Regions from separate parts of the Homo sapiens genome. Here region 1 is linked to region 2. Evidence: promoter capture Hi-C in human tissues and cell types (Jung and others, 2019). All regions are on one chromosome and are shown on one strand. The core of a region is centred on a gene start or on the middle of the fragment in contact, and the rest is flanking DNA. Distances in the headings are between cores, read along the strand shown.

Region 1 (2,700 bases), core at 161-2,660, 38 kb after region 2:
GATGGTATCTGAATTTATTAAACTGACCTCATGCAGAATCAAGAGTAGCATTATGTTCTGGTGGGAACTTAAGAGGTTCTTGAAATTATTTTCAACCAAAAAAATGTAGTCCTGTCTTTTATGACTATGAATTAGAGGCCATCTATGAAGCTGCTGAGTTTTATAGAAAAGCCTGCATTTAGACTGACATCTATCTTGTAATGTGGCAGTAAAAAATTCTGAAACATTTACAGAACAAAGGTTAAGGCCAAACTTTATCAGCATAATGTTTATAGAGACTAAATCTGCACAAAAAAGGGGCAGATTTATTATTTGTGTTTAACTACAGTGTCTATTGTGTGTTTAAAAGTCCATATTAAATGAAGTAGATTCACTGAAGTAGGAAGGGAGACAAGTTGAGAATCAGGAAAGGAGAAAGTCTAGTGAACTTCTTTAAGAGCCACTTTTGAACTGTCTTCTAGCACTTGCTGACTTTGAATCATTTTTCCCAATTTTTATTGTGAATATTTTCAAACATATAGAAAAGCTTAATAATATGATGACATCTGTATATTCTTGCATATTAGTCAGGGTTCTCCAGAGAAACAGAACCAATAGGATTCATTGATTTGAATTGGCTCATGCAATTATGGAGTCTTGACAAGTCCTGAGTTCTTCAGGGTGAAATCAGCAAGCCAGACACCCAGGAGAGCCAATGGTTCAGTTCCAATCTGAGTCCAAAGACCTGAGAACCAGTAGAGTCAACAGTGTAGCTTCTGTCTAAAGGCCAGCAGGCTCAAGAGCCAGGAAGTGCAGATGTTTCAGTTTGAGTCAAAAGGGAGAAAAATAAGCCAATGTCCCAGGTCAAAGGCAGTCAGGCAGGAAGAATTCTGTTACTTGGGTGAGGGTCAGCCTTTTAATTCTATTCAGGCTTTCAACTGATTTGATGAGGCCCATCCACATTAGGAAGGACAATTTTCTTTACTCAGGCTATTAATTTAAATGTTAATTTCATCAAAAAACATCATCACAAGGCTGGGAGCAGTGGCTCACACCTGTAATCCTTGTACTTTGGGAGGCTGTGGTGGGAAGATGGCTTGAGCCTAGAAGTTTGAGGCCATAGTGAGCTATGATCACACCATAGCATTCCAACCTGGGCAACAGAGCAAGACCCTGTCCCTGAAACAAAAATAAAAACAAAAACAATGAAACCCAAATGAAACAAACAAAAAACACCTTCACAGAAACACCCAGAATAATGTTTAAGTATCTGGGCACCCAGTCAAGTTGACTCATAAAATTAACCATCACATCTTGTATTAGCTTTCTATTGCTGTACAATAATATTACCACACATTTAGCAGCTTAAAACAACATATATTTATTATCTCACAACTTCTGTGGCTCAAGATGCTGGCTATGGTTTAGCTGGATCCTGTTCTTAAGGTTTCACAAGACTGTACAAGATGCCAGCCAGGGCTGTGGTCTCATCAGATGCTTGACTGGGGGAAAAAATAACTTCTAAGCTCACTCACATTATAGGCATAATTCAGGTCTTTGCATCTATAAGATTGAGGTCTTCTGTTTCTTGCTGGCTGTCAGCTGGAAGCTACCCTCACCCCATAGAGGCCATGTTACTTCCTTGTTGGGATTGCCCAAGATGTTCACTTGCTTCCTCAAAGCTAATAAAGGAAAAAGAGAGAACTTAGGTAATCATGTATATCCTGTCACCTTTGCCATATGTTATTGTCCAGAAGCAAGTCACAGTTCTTGCTCACAAGAAGGGAGAGGGAGAGGTGTCACATAAGAGTATGAACACCAGGAGTCGGAATCATGGGAACTACTGTAAGCCTGTGTACCACAAGTCTCCATTTAGATTCAAGAATTGTTAACATTTTGCACATCTGCTTTGTCTCTCTCTCTTTCTACACACACACTTTTGATGAATATTTGTCGTGATTATTTCTCTAAATACATTCATCTCCTAAGAACAGTACACTTCTATATAATTACAACACAATAATCAAAGTATTTTAAAGAAAATTAACAATATTTTCATTCAATCATTTAATGTTCAGATCATGTTCAAATTTCTTTCATTGTAGGAGCAAACCTCTTATACATTTTAAAAAATCAAGATCCAATCAGGTTTCATGCATTACATTTGGTTATGTCATTTTAGTCTCTTTAGTTTAACTCAGTTTTGTCACTAAATTAAAACAACTGAAGTATATTATACATACAGAAAAGTATAAATATCATTGGAGATCGTAGCCAGCATTATAAGTAAACATCATCATGTACAAAGAAAATCCAAAAGAATCCATACGCTATTAGAATAAATGAATTTAGCAAGGCCTCTTGATACAGTCAGTATGCAAAAATCATTTCTATATGCTAGAGACAAAAAACTTAAACAATTCAATTATAACATCAAAAAGCACCAAATTCTCACAAATAAATCTAAGATGTCTAAGACCTTCCCTCTATACTGAAAATTATATAATATTGATGACAGAAATTAAAGAAGAGCTAAATTAATGGAGAGATATTAACTCCTGAAAATTAATCTCTAGCTTCAGCCCAGGGTGGAGGCTTACACGTGTAATCCTAGCACTTTGGGAGGCTGAAGTGGGAGGACTGCTTGAGGCCAGGAGTTTCAGACTAGCCTGGTCAACATAATAAGACCCTGCCTCTACAAAAAATAAAAAAGCTTAGCTA
Region 2 (2,700 bases), core at 1-2,500:
CACGGTCCCCGCCGACCCCTGGAACCAGGCGCGTTTCCTCAGTTTTTCCTGAGAGCAGGAGGAAGCGAGCTCAAGGCGCTGTCGGAGAAGGGCAAAGGAAGGTGACTGGGGCGACAGCTCCAGGGCACCGATGGGGGCGGGGTGCGCGTTTCGTCGCCTCATCTCTGAGCCAGGGCAGGCAGCTGGCGGGCTAAGGCGATCACCATCCATGAAAACGGGTTCTGCCCACAGCCGCTGCGGAGCGGTCCCTGCGCCGCTCGCCCGCCGGCCGGACGCGGCCCTCCCTTGGGAAATGGTGCGTCTGAGGGGCGCAGCCACTGCCCCCATCCCGGAGCAGGCGCACCTCTGCACCCGGCTCTCTGCTAAGGGGGTCCGGTATCCTGGTGCCAAGGCTGTGCGCACCTGAGAAGGGCGGGAACCGGCTGCCCGCCCCTGTGTGGCTCCTGGAAGCAGGAGCTCCTGGAAGCTGCAAAGGGCTCCGCAGTCCCCAGCCCGCCCCCAGCGCCCAGCCGGCACCTCCTGCTGCCCAGCTGCCGAGGCACCTGCGGAGACGCGCCCAAGTCAGCCCCTCCGGAGACGCGCCCAAGTCAGCCCCTCCGACCCGCGCGCTCTTGCGGCCCAGCGCGCGCCGCTCCCGCTGCTGCGCCGACCTTCGCCCATCAGGCCCCCCGCCCCGCATCCTCCTCGACACCCCGCGGCCGGGCAGCCCTCGCCGGTTCCCGCCGCTCGGCGAGGCTGAGAAGGAGGCGGAACCCGCATCCCCGCGGAGTCCAAGCCCCAGCGGCCGCAAAACTGGAACCGAGAACCAGTGGGAAAGGCAGGAGGCGCGAGGGTGAGCTCGCGTGGAGCGCGCCCCGGGGTGGCGGGGCAGAGTCTCTCGGGAGGCCCCTGCAGCCCGGCGGCCCTCGGCTGGCCCTGGGTCTCTCATCCTGCTCGGGGCACTGCAATGTCAGGGTGAGCGGGAGGTGCGGGCTTCAGGGGCTTGCGCGCACCGGGCAGGGAGCACTGAGGCCGTGCGGGCCGCTGGGTTCCACGCTGCGCCCTCGATGTCCTCCTCCCGGCAGCCGCCACTGCAAGCCAAAGTTTCCCAAGTGCAGCCGGCAGGGACGGCGCCTCACACTGACCTGGGACGCGCTGTCGAGTTGGCGGCGGCGCTTTCAAACCTCTCTCCGGCACTGCCCGACCCTCTGTGCGGCCCTAGGGCGCCGTCTGAGCTGAGCTGTGGTCTTCGGCTCCTCGGCGCCTCGAATCGCAGATCTCGGTAGATGCCGCCCAGTCCCCGCCCTGCTTGCGGAAAGAGGCGGGCGACTGCCGCGAAGCGCTGGAGCTGGGACCCGGAGCGCACACCTCGCCAGACGCCCGGGCAGCGAGGCGCTTCCGCTGGGGGTGACGCGTCGGCTCCAGGCTCTGCGCAGGTGAGGGCGGCAAGGCTCCTCTGGACCCAGGGGGGCCAGCAGCTGCTGGAAGCTCCGCCTTCTGTCCCCGTAAGTCCCACCCCCGTCCCCCGCTTCGGCCACCGCGCTTCGGCCACGGCGACTTGGCCAACAACAGCGGCAGCAGGGTCTCCCCATTGAGGGAAGCACGCACCCCTACGTCACGGGCTTTGGCTCCTCCAGTCCGTATCCCTCCCCTCAGCTCACATCCACCCGCTGGTTCATGGGTCCATCTGTCCCCACCGGTCCTTCCACCCCTCCGCATCCCTGTACCCACTTCAGGTAAAGCCAGAGCCACACTTCAGGTTGGGGTGTTAGTGGGAACAACCGTTCTTATTTACGTCTTTAGGAATTTATAAGGTTATTATGCTATTATTAAAACATGAATAAACATATTAACAAAATTTCGAAAAATACATTTCATATGTTAAACTCTACTGAGAGATGAAAAGGAAATGAAGCAGAAGCAACTTTTTCTGTCGTTTTTAGTTTTTGGTTTTTTTGAGACGGAGTCTCATTCTGTCACCCAGGCTGGAGTGCAGTGGTGTGATCTCGGCTCACTGCAACCTCTGCCTCCTGGGTTCAACCGATTCTCATGAGCCAGCCTCTGGAGTAGCAGGGATGACAGGTGTGCACCATCACGCCTGGCCAATTTTTGTATTTTTAGTAGAGATGGGGTTTCACCATGTTGCCCAGGCTGGTCTCGAACTCCTGACCTCAAGTGATCCACCCACCTCGGCCTCCCAAAGTGCCGGGATTACAGGTGTGAGCCACAACGCCCGGCCAGAAGCAAAGTTTTTAACTCTTCATTTATCTTGGAGGGTCTGGTGGAGAAAGGCCATCACTATTTTTGTTATTCAGATAATGTCAATCAAAACTTGTTTATAGTTTTGAGTTCTCGGGAAAAGTAGATTTATCTCTGGTCAGGCTTCCTTTATTAAAGAAAAGATCTCTCCGAAATGAGGACCTAAAGGGTCCTCATTTAGTAAACATATGCAAAGCAATTGCACAGGGTGCTTTACCCCAAAGTTAGGCTCTAGGGAGTTTGAATCCTATATCTGGGCTGCCCTTTGCCTACAGCTGTTTGTTTGGAGGTTACCAGGAAGACTGAGCCAATTTGCATGAAGGCACGGGGCTCCTCCCCCTTACCACCTCCGACTGTTCTCTTAAAAAAATTTCATCAATGTGCAGTGTACCTATTAAAAGGCAAATATTTTGGCTGAGTGCTGTGGCTCATGCCTGTAATCCCAGCACTTTGGGAGGCCAA

Evidence for each region. Contacts are between HindIII fragments. The study calls those that stand out against the background at their distance.
Region 1: a fragment that was not itself captured here is called in contact with the fragment with the promoter of ANKRD34B in region 2 in 1 of the 25 tissues and cell types used here (adrenal gland).

Annotation. Positions count from the first base shown.
Region 1 is chr5:80,607,285-80,609,984 of GRCh38, forward strand. It overlaps LINC01337 (long intergenic non-protein coding RNA 1337), which reads right to left. Exons shown (of 2, transcript NR_125754.1): 2 at 1,336-1,661. Among named protein-coding and RNA genes, the nearest start is that of LINC01337, 14 kb to the right of the region's middle. The HindIII fragment of the contact is 4,173 bases long and covers 1-2,700 here.
Region 2 is chr5:80,569,030-80,571,729 of GRCh38, forward strand. ANKRD34B (ankyrin repeat domain 34B) reads right to left here and starts at 1,251. Exons shown (of 5, transcript NM_001004441.3): 1 at 1,125-1,251; 2 at 1-78. The HindIII fragment of the contact is 14,198 bases long and covers 1-2,700 here.